Linked DNA regions of Homo sapiens: region 1 is linked to region 2. Evidence: promoter capture Hi-C in human tissues and cell types (Jung and others, 2019). All regions are on one chromosome and are shown on one strand. The core of a region is centred on a gene start or on the middle of the fragment in contact, and the rest is flanking DNA. Distances in the headings are between cores, read along the strand shown. Region 1 overlaps GAPVD1 (GTPase activating protein and VPS9 domains 1). Region 2 holds the start of MVB12B (multivesicular body subunit 12B).

Region 1 (6,626 bases), core at 4,034-6,533, 1.0 Mb after region 2:
CAGTGGCTCACGCCTCTAATCCCAACACTTTGGGAGGCTGAGGTGGGCAGATCACCTGAGGTCAGGAGTTTGAGAGCAACCTGGCCAACATAAAGTGAAACCCTGTCTCTACTAAAAATACAAAAATTAGCTGGGCATAGTGGCATATGCCTGTGGTCCCAGCTACTAGGGAAGCTGAGGCAGGAGAATCACTTGAACAGGGGAGGCGGAGGCTGCAGTGAGAGCGGCCTCCCAAAGTGCTGGGTGTATCTTCTTAATGACTATTTATCAACATATAATGTCTTTGTCTTTTGTAATCTTTCTGCTCCTGAGACTAGATAATCTCAATTGATCCATCTTCAAGTTCACTGATTTTTCTGCCTGTACAAATCTGCTGTTGAACCCCTCTAGTGTATTTTTCATTCCAGTTATTATACTTTTCAACTCCAGAATTTCTATATGGTTCCTTCTGTAATTTCTACCCCTTTATTGATATCTTCTATTTGGTGAGACCTTGTTCTCTTGGTTTTCTTTAGTTCTTTGTCCGTGGTTTCCATAGCTCTTTAAGTATATTAAAAAAAAAATTGATTTAAAGTCTTGAGTAAGTCCAATGTCTGTGCTTCATCAAGGCCATTTTCTTTCTTTTCTTTCTTTTCTTTTTTTTTTTTTTTTTGAGACAGAGTTTCGCTCTTGTTGCCCTGGCTGGAGTACAACAGCACAATCTCAGCTCACCATAACCTCTACATCCCAAGTTCAAGCGATTCTCCTACCTCAGCCTCCCGAGTAACTGGGATTACAGGCATGTGCCACCAGGCCTGGCTAATTTTGTATTTTTAGTAGAGACAGGGTTTCTCCATGTTGCTCAGGCTGGTCTCAAACTCCCAACTTCAGGTGATCCACCCACCTCAGCCTCCCAGAGTGCTGGGATTACAGGCGTGAGCCACCGCCCGGCCATCAAGGACGTTTTCTTTTTTTTTTTTTGAGACAGAGTCTCGCTGTATTGCCCAGGCTAGAGTGCAATGGCGCAATCTTGGCTCACTGCAACCTCCGCCTCCCAGGTTCAAGCGATTCTCCTGCCTCAGCCTCCTGAGTAGCTGATATTACAGGTGCACACCACCACGCCTGGCTAATTTTTGTATTTTTAGTCGAGACGGGGTTTCACCATGTTGGTCAGGCTGGTCTCGAACTCCTGACCTCATGAACAGCCCACCTTCGCCTCCCAAAGTGCTGGGATTACGGCCATGAACCACTGCGCCTGGCCCATCAAGGACATTTTCTATTAACTTTTTTCCTGTGAAAGGGCCATATTTTTGTTTCTTTATATGCCTCATAAGTTTTGCTGAAAAGCAGACATTTTAAATATTATAAAGTGATCATTAAAAAGTCAGGAAACAACAGATGCTGGAGAGAATGTGGAGAAACAGGAACACTTTCACACTGTTGGTGGGAGTGTAAATTAGTTCAACTGTTATGGAAGACAGTGTGGCAATTCCTCAAGGATCTAGAACCAGAAATACCATCTGACCCAGCAATCCCATTACTGGGTGTATATACCCAAAGGATTATAAATCATTCTACTATAAAGACACATGCACACATACGTTTATTGAAGCACTATTCACAATAGCAAAGACTTGGAACCAACCCAAATGCCCATCAACAATAGACTGGATAATGAAAACGTGGCACATATACACCATGGAATACTATGCAGCCATAAAAAAGGATTAGTTCATGTCCTTTGCAGGGATACATGTGCCATAGTGGTTTGCAGCAATAAAAAAGGATTAGTTCATGTCCTTTGCAGGGATACAGATGAAGCTGGAAACCATCATTCTCAGCAAACTAATGCAGGAACAGAAAACCAAACACCGCATGTTCTCCCTCATAAGTGGGAGTTGAACAATGAGAATACATGGACACAGGGAGGGGAACATCATACACTGGGGCCTGTCGCAGGGGTAGGGGGTTAGGGGAGGGATATCATTAGGAGAAATATCTAATGTAGATCTATGGCACATGTATACCTATGTAACAAACCTGCACGTTCTGCACATGTATCCCAGAACTTATAGTATAATAAAAAAATTAAAATAAAAAATAAACAAATAAATGTTACAAAGTGGCAATTCTGGAAATCAGATTATATACCCTTAACCCCTAGTTGGTTGTTGCTGCTTGTTGTAGTGACTATTTAATGATCTCTCTAAATTTTCTGTCATGTGTGGCCTCTGAAGTTTCTGTTCTGTTAGCTTAGTGGTGAGCACGTGATTTGGCAGATTTAACACCTGGAATAACAAAACAAAACATTTCCAAGTCTTTGAAGATTGGCTCTGTTTTGGGGAACTTCAACACTTAGCCAGGCAGTTTGCAACTGTACCTTAGCCTTCACTTCCTACTTGGGTTCAGCCTGAAGGTTACCCAGCAGTGAGAGCTTGGATCTTCTAGGGTCTTTCCTGAGCACATGACCAGCCCTGGGTATGTGTACAACCTGGTAGATTCCCCAGAACACGTGGGAGCTTTTCAAAGCCTTTGTGCCCCCTGGTGTCTCCTTCCCAAGCCTCTTCCTTCATAAGCATTTGGATCTGTATGCGGATTGCCCTGACTGTTATCCCTTAATGCAAGCAGAAGCAACTAATATATCTGCTTTTCAATACTTTTGACAAATGCCACCTGTGTAGCTGCCTCGGCCCTGGGAAAGATCAGAGGCAGGCAAAACAAAGCCAAGCCTTTGAGACGATCTTTCAGGACCTACCAGACAGATCAAAATACACAACCATGCTGCTTTCAGAATAAGGTCCACATTCCTCCCTCAAGTACCAGCACACTGCACAGTAATATAAGCTGTCTTCAAAGCAGCCACTGGGCTGGGGGTTGAAGATGGTAACAGGGTAGGATCACAGAGCTCTCTTAACAAAATTCAGCAGTCTTTTTCTTCATTAAGCATTCCTTTGTTGTTAAAAGTTTTTTATTAGATTCCAGAGTTCCAAATAAGTTGATTCTGACAGTTTTTGCCAGCTTATTTGTGTGTGTGTGTGGAGGATGGAGTTTCGAAGATTGTTGGTCTTCTTCCCTATGGGGTATCATGTCATAGTCCCAAACACAGCTTTACCAACCACCATCACTTTATCAATCACTAAAACTGGCCTCTTCTTTCTAGCCCATTTTCTTGAATAACAAGCAATCACTGTTGAATATAAGAAGCTGCTACTGGCAGGGCACGATGGCTCACACCTGTAATCCCAGCACTTTGGGAGGCCGAGGTGGGCGGATCACGAGGTCAGGAGATCGAGACTATCCTGGCTAACATGGTGAAACCCTGTCTCTACTAAAAATACAAAAAAATAGCCGGGCGTGGTGGCGGGCGCCTGTAGTCCCAGCTGCTAGGGAGGCTGAGACAGGAGAATGGCGTGAACCCGGGAGGTGGACCTCGCAGTGAGCCGAGATCGCACCACTGCACTCCAGCCTGGGTGACAGAGTGAGACTCCGTCTCAAAAAAAAAAAAAAAAGAAGCTGCTACTTTTTCAGGAGGTCACAATTTCACAATTCTATGAGAAGAGACTCCTATCTTTAGGGAGTCAAGATTTCTTCTTCTTGTCTTTTTGTTTCTTTTTTCTGTTTTTTGTTTTGTTTTGTTTTGTTTTGAGACAGAGTTTCACTCTTGTTGCCCAGGCTGGAGTGCAATGGGGCGATCTCAGCTCACTGCAACCTCCACGTCCCGGGTTCAAGCGATTCTCCTGTCTCAGCCTCCCAAGTAGCTGGGATTACAGGCATGCGCCACCACACCCAGCTAATTTTTATTTTTAGTAAAGATGGGGTTTTACTATGTTGGTCAGGCTGGTCTCGAACTCCTGACCTCGGGGGATCCACCCACCTCGGCCTCCCAAAGTGCTGGGATTATAGGTGTGAGCCACCAGGCCTGACCTTCTTTTCATTCACCTTTAAGCCAAGCTTTTTGTTACAAATATATTAAAAATGATTCCCAAGCCTCAAACTCCATTTCTTAAAAAAATTTATTTTCTTAGTTTTCCATTATTTCTTCCATTTTTTCCTGACCAGCCAAAGAATACAACATGTATCTCAAAATACATCTCAACATATTTTTGGCTCTATAATGCAGGAATACTACTAGTATACCACTAGAAAGAAAATGAACACAAAACATTTCCTACAAGTCACTGGAAAAGTCTCTTTAATTTCCATACCACAATCTCCTGGCTTCATCTCTCTTCTGCTACTGCCTGGAAAATTCCTTATGCTTGGACCTATTCACCAACCTCAGTGCCACAGATGTATTAATGTGAAGGGCCTCACAACTGTTCACAGGGAGCTTAGCATGTGATGGTGTGTCATGGTGGGACCACTGAAGATAACAAAGAATTAAGCATTAAATTCATTGGCTGGGTGCAGTGATTCACACCTGTAATCCCAGCACTTTGGGAGGCCAAGGTGGGTGGATCACTGGAGGTCAGAAGTTCGAGACCAGTCTGGCCAACATGGCAAAACCCCGTCTCTACTAAAAATACAAAGTTAGCCGGGTGTGGTGGCACATGCCTGTAAGACCAGCAACTCAGGAGGCTGAGGCAGGAGAATTGCTTGAACCCAGGAGGCAGAGGCTGTGGTGAGCAAAGATCGCACCATTGCACTCCAGCTGTGCAACAGAGTGACACTCCATGTCAAAAAAAAAGAAAAAAATGGCTGGGCACGGTGGCTCACGCCTGTAATCCCAACACTTTGGAAGGCCGAGGCAGGTGGATCACGAGGTCAGGAGATCGAGACCATCCTGGCTAACACGGTGGAACCCCTTCTCTACTGAAAATACAAAAAATTAGCCGAGCGTGGTGGCGGGCACCTGTAGTCCCAGCTACTTGGGAGGCTAAGGCAGGAGAACAGTGTGAATCCGGGAGGCAGAGCTTGCAGTGAGCTGAGATCGTGCCACTGCACTCCAGCCTAGGTGACAGAGTGAGACTCTGTCTCAAAAAAAAAAAAAAGAAAAAGAAAAAGAAAAAAAAAAATTCATTGCTAGGATCTGAATGTTTGTGCTCCCCCAAAATCTGTATGTTGAAATTCTAACCCCCAAGGTGATGGTATTTGGAGATCGGGCCTTTGGAGAGGTGATTAGGTCATGAAGGCAGGGCCCTCACAAATGGAATAAGTGCCCTTATAAAATAGCCCAACCAGCCAGGCGCGGTGGCTCACACCTGTAATCTCAGCACTTTGGGAGGCAAAGGCAGGCGGATCACCTCAGTTGGGGAGTTTGAGACCAGCCTGACCAACATGTAGAAACCCTGTCTCTACTAAAAATACAAAATTAGCTGGGCATGGTGATGCATGCCTGTAATCCCAGCTACTCAGGAGGCTGAGGCAGGAGAATTGCTTGAACCCGGGATTGGGAGGTTGCAGTGAGCTGAGATCGTGCTATTGCACTCCAGCCTGGGCAACAAGAGTGACACTCCATCTCAAAAAAAAATAAGCCCAAAGACACAGCAAGAATACATCATCTATGAACCAGTAAACAGATCCTTACAAGACACTGAATCTGCCTTGACTATAGACTTCCTGGCCTCTACAAATGTGAGAAATAAATATCTGTTGTTTATAAGCCACCCAACCTCTGGTGTTTTGTTACAGCAGCCTGTATGGACTAAGACATGAATATTGATTTATAGAAGCAACTGATTCATACCTCATTTTCTGACATCATCCCTGGAGTAAGCTGGGGACCTGTACCTAAGGAAATGACCAACACCTCTTCTGGTTGCACCTCCTGAATGGTTTCTTGAGATGATCCTTCATGGTCCATATGTAGGTCCATTAGCATATTGGTGCGGCTTCTGCTCCGAGTTGCTAATAAAAAATTTCAAATAAAATAATTTAGAGAAATAGACAAATGAAGAAAATGGTATGCTAAATATGAATATATTTTCTATTAGTGCAGAACATTTGCACATGCACAAGAGTGGTAAAAAATATAAATAAGAAAAAACAAAACAAAACAAAACAAACCAGATCCTCCCAGTTACTCTACTGACTAATAAAGATTCTCCTTCAAAACTGATAATCAAGAACAATGATCCAAGTGCATCTGACAGGAAGTGCCACACAGATGATCACATCTGCAGAACAGCAAACATGTCACAATAAATTTAAGACTTGGAGTGACAAGAAAAGCATTACCTCATTTCTTATCTTTTTAAGATACCTTCACTATTTTTCCTATAAATTGATGTAACTGCTACAGGTCTCCCATACCAATAACTGAGCTTACAAGCATTAGAAAATTTCATATGAGGGATTACTCCTGTAATCCTAGCACTTTGGGAGGCTGAGGCAGGTGGATTGCCTGAATTCAGGAGTTCGAGACCAGCCAGGGCAACACGGTGAAACCCCATCTCTACTAAAATACAAAAAATTAGCCAGGCATGGTGACATGCACCTGTAATCCCAGCTACTCGGGGGGCTGAGACAGGAGAATCACTTGAACCAGGCAGACGGAGACTGAAGTGGGCCAAGTTTGCACCACTGCACTCCAGCCTGGGCATCAGAGTGAGACTCCATCTCAAAAAAAAAAAAAGAAACAATAAAGAAAATTTTATATGAAAACCTAATAGCCACATAAATAGGATACTTTAAGTTAGGCAACTGTT
Region 2 (6,649 bases), core at 3,495-5,994:
AAAGGCAACCTATGGAATGGGAGGAAATATTTGCAAATCATGTATCTGATGAGGAGTTAATATGTGGATCTATAAAAAACTCCTACAAATCAACAACAAAAAAACAAATTCCTTAATTTAAAAATGGGCAAAGGACTTGAATAACAAGTCTTTCCAAAGACAATATACGAATAGCCAACCAGCACCCAAAAAGATGCTCAACATCACTTGCCACTAGGGAAATGCAAATCCAAATGACATCTCACCTTATACTCATTACGATGGCTACTACCAAAAACAAACAAACATACAAACAAAATAACTGTTCGCAAGCATGTGAAGAGATTGGAAACTCTGGCACACTGCTGGTGGGAATGTAAAATGGCACAGCCACTATGTTATGGAAAACAGTGTGGTGGTTCCGCAGAAAATTATAAATAGAATTACCATATGATCCAGCAATTCCACTTCTGGGTATCTACACAAAAGAATTTAAATCGGGGTCTCAAAGAGAATTGTAGACCCATGTTCAGAGCAACATTATTCACAATAGCCAAAAGACAGAAGCAACCCAAGCATCCATCTATGGATGAATGAACAAAATATGGTCCACATATTCAATGGAGTATTATTCAGCCTTAAAAAGGAAGGAAATTCTGAAATATGCTACAACATGATGAACCTTGAGGACAGTATGCTAAACTAAACAAGCCAGTCACAAAAAGACAAATACTGTATGATCCACTAGGATCACACAGTTTGACTACCTAGGGTAGTCAAACTCACAGAAACACAAAGCAGAATGGTGGTTGCCAGGGGTCAGGAAAGGGGGAAATGCAAAGTTGTTTTATGAGCACAGCGTTTCGGTTTTGCAAGATGAAAAGTTCTGGAGCTTAGTTGCACCACAGTGTGAATGTGCATAATGCCACCGATCTGTGCACTTAAAGATGAGTAGGATGGTCAATTTTATGTTACGTGTATTTAACACTTTTTTAGAAAGCATCAAGAACTGTAGGTCTCTAATTTCAGTAAGAAGAAGTATAACCCAAGGTGTCTGTTAAGACTGCAGATTCCAGGTCCCGTTCCCCAGAGATTCTGACTCAATAAAGTCTGAGTATGAGGTCCTAGAATCTGCATTTTCATCAACACCACAGGCATATTTAGTGCATTACAAACTCATTTATTTCTCTCTTCTAAAGGATCAGGGGATATTCTTTTGAATATTCTGCTCTGCTGATTAGAATCTGTTTTTTTTAAGTGTGTGTGTATGTGTGTGTGTGTGTGTGTGTAAAGAAAGAAAGAACAAACTCATGTTGACTCCTGCCACAGGTCCAACAAGATGGCCCTCCAGTCCTAAGGGAAGTATGAGCCACAAAGCTACTATGTGCAACCCCTGGGCTCCAGGCCCACAGGGCTCTCACATTTCTGCCTGGACAAGCTCTGCATCTCGCCAGAAGCGTGTCAAGTAAACCAAATGCATGCCCACAGGATGTCCCCAACAAGGGAGGTAATGTCAAGCACACTCTGCAGTGGCTTTGCCTCCCAGGCAGCCGGAGACAGGAGACCTGACTCTGGCAAACCCACTGCAACTAGTGCAGACAGCGCAGGGAAGCCACGATTCCCTAGGGCAGCCCAGCAAGCAGAAGGCCAAGGAGAGCCGGGGTTGGGGGCGGGGTGGGTTGGGGAAATGCTGGCCAGGGTGGGCCTCGGTGAGAGCCAGAGCAGCCTGGGGAGAAGGAGTCTATTCAAGAAACCCAGGCCTCCCCTCCACAACCCAACCTGCAAAGGAGGCTCTGCAACACAGTGTGCTCAGCCTAACCACATCCAGCCATGTAGTCATTTGTTATCTTCATCATCATAATAGCACCTTCGACTTTTCCCATGCTTGACTCCAGCACCATCATTATTTTGCAGTGTGGCAAGGATGTCTCCCTTTGAGTATGGAGCACTTCCAGCAAACTCAGACAGAGGGGCCTATGCCATTTGGATTCTGATCCCCCCAGGAGAAGATCCTCCATGAAATGGATAGAGACTACACTTCTCCCTTACCCCTTCCAAGGCCCTGAGAGGGCATCCAGCAGTGTGCTCACATGGTGGCGTGGTTCTGTAACATGTACAAACACAGGATATTCTTGTATTCTTTTTCTTAATGCTCTCCCCGCAACAAACTGTATAAACATCGGACCTGAAAAAAACACCATGATCTGCTGCTGGATGCTGAATCGCACACTTAAATTTCATGAGGACCGCCACCTCCTGCAGTGCCAAGTGCAGTCACATACATTAGCTCCTTCAGCTCTTCTTGACTGATTAGCTTTATGGGGTAGGCTTTGTTCTTAAGACACTTTTACATTACAGAAATGGGGATTCAGAAAGGTTCTGTGACTCCCCTAGGGTCACCTGGGGTCCAGGAGGTAGCCTGAGAGTCAAACTCAAGCTCCTAAATCCAAGTCCAGTGTTCTTTCTACTATACCATCACTTCCTGGTTGTCCCGTTGAAGACTAAATAATAGGCCAGGCGTGGTGGCTCATGCCTGTAATCCCAGGAATTTGGGAGGCCAAGGTGGGAGGATTACTTAAGCTCTGGTGTTCAAGACCAGCTTGGGCAACATAGCAAGACCCCAACTCTACTAAAAATAATAATAATTTAAAAAAACAGCCGAGCGTGGTGGCAGGCACCTATACTTGGGAGGCTGAGGTGGGAGAATCGCTTGAGTCCAGGAGTTCAAGGCTGCAGTGAGCCATGATGGTACCACTGCACTCCAGCCTGAGTGACAGTGAGACCCTGTCTCAAAAACAAACAAAAACCAAAAAAAAAGCAGACAGAAAGAAACTCTAAAAATAAATAAATAAGCTACTCCTCTCATTCATCCGTTAACAAACCTCTCATAATGACCCCTACCGTTTACTGACTTCTTGCCATGTAGCAGGCACTGAGCTAGACTTTTCTTGCAAAATTTCATTTACATCACGCCATAATCCCATGAGATGAATACTATCATTAGTTTCACTCTACAGATGAGGAAACTGAAACTCAGAAAAGTTCAATAATTTGTCCAAGGGCACAAAGTAAGTAGGAAAGCCAAGACTTAAGCTGAGGGCTAATTCTAAACTCCCTGCACATAACCATGGCACAACATTCCAGTTGGAAGTGGTAAAAGGTCCCTAGCAGGATGGAGACAGGGCAAGAAAAATGCCTTGAACCTAAATTAGGAGTGTGACCTAAAGCCTAGAAGGAAGGAATGAAAAATATGGATTACAGAAGGTAAGTTTAGGTTTAAATGAACCAGTAATCGCCACGTCAACTGCTTCCCATGGGGCTTGGAGCCCGGGTCCCAAGCAGAAGCCTCATCTCTCTGAGGCCCTATTTAAAGATTCTGAGCATGGTACAGTATCTCCAAGGACCCCACATGATTTCTAACAAGCAAGAAAGGTGTCACCATCTACTGTAACTAAACATCCTAGCACATTGAGTTTTTCAGTTAGTCAAGGCTTCACAGAGCTTATTTTTTAACTCTCTAAGCTTTCCTGGTGCCGCTGATAAGATTTCCCAGCCCTGTTAAAACGAGATGAGATCCAGCCAGCTGTCGAGAAATGTACAATGAGATTATACTGAGAAGGAACCACGAGAGACAAAGGCCCCTAAGAGGAGCTGGTCTGCTGTCTGCTTTTGTGGCAGCAATCGGAGTGGGCTCTGGTTCTTGGGTGGGGGCAGGAAGCAGGGAAGGGGCAACCACCATTTGCCTTTTGCCCTCCTGTGGTCTTCCTCAGTGCCTTGTGCAAGAGGTGTTGAGGGGCAGGGAACAGAAGAGTCTCATCTTTCATGGTGAGAAGGGCTGCTGATTTAGAACAGTTGTGTGTTGGTAACAAAGAGGACAAAAGATGCTCTTGGGTCTACCCCGTTCCCTGGTGCCTGCCTCTGAGGATGTGATGTCCCCTGGTGCCATGCCTCAGCTCTTGTCCCAGCCCCTGCTCCTCCCGTCTCGCTGGTGTTGGAGTCACTGTAGGGTGCTCGACGTGCCCACCATGTTCCTGGATGGGTGCTCTGGGTCTCGGGTACCCAGGCTGGGCATGTCACCTTCCAGACAGGTGCCTGAGGGTTTAGGTGTCCTCTCTGCTGTGCCCAGGTCACAGAGGCAGTGATGCTCCTGGGGCAGGTGCACGTTGGTCTGCACCCACGTGACCAGAGAGAGCAGGACCCCAGGCCAGGCCGGTCAAACGATTGACTGTTCCCAGTCTGTGCCCAGGTGGGCCGCCTCCCTCTCACGCGGGCAGAGGTGGCTCTCGGCGCCCCTCACCTGCCCGGGCCTTGGGGGCGCTGCTGGCACTCGGGTCCCCCAGCTTCTCCCGCCTCTCGCCGCCAGGCCGAGCCCGGGCACCGGCAGCCGCGGCGCGCTCGGGGCTCTGCAAAGGCCGCCCGGGCCTGTCCCCGCCGCGGGCCGGGCACGGAGCCCGCAGGCCTCGGCGCGGCCCGGCTCCTCCCGTCCGCCCGCCCCTCGGCCGGGGGCCCGCGCCCGCCCGCCCGCCCTCCCGGCTGCAGGGCCGGCTCCGCCGAGCCTCCGCGGCGCCCGGGCCTCACTTAACTGTTCCCCGCTGGGGCGGCGGCGGCGGTGGCTGCGGCGGCGGCGGGTCCCGGCTCCGTCTCACGCAGAAGCAGCTTCTCATCGCCCGGGCGGCGCGGGAGGGGCCGGGCCCGGGGCCCAGGCGGCAGGAGCCGGCGCCGCAGCTCGAGCGCGAGCCTCACCGAGAGCGGCGGCGGCGGCGGCGGCGGCGGAGGGGCGGGGCGCGGCCTGGCGGCGGCGGCGACAACGGCAGTGGCGGCGGCGGCTCCCTCCGCGGGCCGCGGCGGCGGGCCGGGCTCCGGGCCTCCCGGCGCTGGCGCTGGTTCAGGATCGGGGGAGGCGCCCGGCGCCCGAGGCTGGCTCGGGCGGGAGGAGGGAGAGGGAGCCCTGGCGTCCCGAGCCCGCGCCGCCGCCCCGGCCGGCACCCCGCCTCCCCAGCCTCCCCCTCGACCCAGCCCGTCAGCCGCAGGCAGGGCCCCGGTGCGCCCACCCGGGCCTCCCCGAGCCCGCCGGCGACCCCAGTCCAGCCTCAGGCCCCCGGGAGCCCACGGCCTCTAGAGCCTGGGGCATCGATGGTCCCCGCCCCCAGGCTGGTCTTTTCCAGGGACCCTCAGCCCACTTAGCTCTCGTAGGCCTCGCTGTACGCAAGACCGGTCTTCCGCTCGGCTGCAGATCCCTGGAAGCCCCCAGGCCCTCAGGCTAGAAGTTGGACCCTTCTAAGGACTCTCCGCCCACCCAGCCATTCTAGGCTTCACTGAACCCTAGAATCCTTCAGCTCATCTTCCCCCACCCCCCAGCTCACCTAAGGTGAGCTCAGCCAGTCGTCTCAAACTAACCCCAATTGCCTAGCAATTCTCTTATATTAGTTAGATGATTTATCCCCAGAAGCCTAGAATCAGGTTTATGGGGCCAGCCTCAGGCAAGCATCTAGAAGAAGTTTTTAGCAGGAGTCCTACCCTGCAGTACTTGGGGAAGGCATAAGCCAAGGATAAAATGGAGCTGGATGGTTGGGGGAGGGTCCAGAGCTTGACCCTCAGCTAGAGTGGCTGGTAGGAAAGGCGGACTCTGCGCCTTAACCAACCATGCCCCCCACACCGCCCAGCCAGGCACCCCAGGCAGAGGCCAGCGTGTGCAAGATTTGAAAGGTTTCCTGCCAGGAGGCTGGAGCATTCGTTAGGACTTGAGGACCATGCAGGAGTGATCAGCATTGATTTGCTAATGCATTGAGTCTCATTTTCACACATTCTAGGCTTTTCCATAATAGCTGTTTGATCCTAAAGAGAAGGGTGCCAAGCAGAATGGGCTGTCGGGGGAAACATCCTGTAGGGAAGCCATGCACGTGTGCATTCCCAGTGTCTTCACTACTCAGAAATGCCATGGGTTCAGATGGCTTTACAGCAAGCCTTATCCTCCCATCAGGGCACAGATCATCCCTATGTTACTTAAACTGTTACACAGGAAAAAATAAACAAAAGAAACAAAAATTTTTATTTCATTTCCCAAGTTTAGCATAACCCTGATACCAAAATCCAACAGACAATACCAAAAAGAACTGCAGATGACTAACCTAGAACACGAGTCCCCAGAGAATTTAATATTTATTTTTTGAAAATGGGCTTCTGTGGGCAACTTGAGAAAGTGCTGCATGCCGTTTATAGTGTACCTTTTGGAGAATCACGATAAGTATTCGTATATTAAGGAAGGCCTCTGTGAAGTCCAGGAGTAAAGAAACCTGTTTGGTTTGTTTAACCTGGCATTTCCCAAACTCATCTGAGCCAGGACCACCTTCTAAAGCTCACTGATAAATCCTCAATATGTGAATCTGCACTATATATTTAAGTATATAATAGTCGTAAAACTATTAAATACAATTTTAGCCATTTGAATCCAGTTTACTATTAAAGCAACTGAAAACCCACCATGATCAAGCAAGATTTATTCCAGAGGCGCAAGAAAAATCCAACATTAGGGAATTTGTAAATGCATTGCATTGTTAAAGGAAAACAAATTACAGGATATTATCAATGGGATAGATGCTTTAAAAGTATTTTATAAACTTCAAAACTAATGACCCATAAATTTCTAAAAACTCTTAGTAAACTATTATAG

The links. Contacts are between HindIII fragments. The study calls those that stand out against the background at their distance.
Region 1: a fragment that was not itself captured here is called in contact with the fragment with the promoter of MVB12B in region 2 in 1 of the 25 tissues and cell types used here (mesendoderm cells).

The regions. Positions count from the first base shown.
Region 1 is chr9:125,311,652-125,318,277 of GRCh38, reverse strand. It overlaps GAPVD1 (GTPase activating protein and VPS9 domains 1), which reads right to left. Exons shown (of 28, transcript NM_001282680.3): 9 at 5,666-5,826. Among named protein-coding and RNA genes, the nearest start is that of GAPVD1, 53 kb to the right of the region's middle. The HindIII fragment of the contact is 9,652 bases long and covers 458-6,626 here.
Region 2 is chr9:126,324,924-126,331,572 of GRCh38, reverse strand. It overlaps MVB12B (multivesicular body subunit 12B), which reads right to left and starts at 4,744. Exons shown (of 10, transcript NM_033446.3): 1 at 4,563-4,744. The coding sequence starts at 4,643. RefSeq lists an enhancer at 3,527-4,178 and a silencer at 4,620-4,759. The HindIII fragment of the contact is 8,205 bases long and covers 1,510-6,649 here.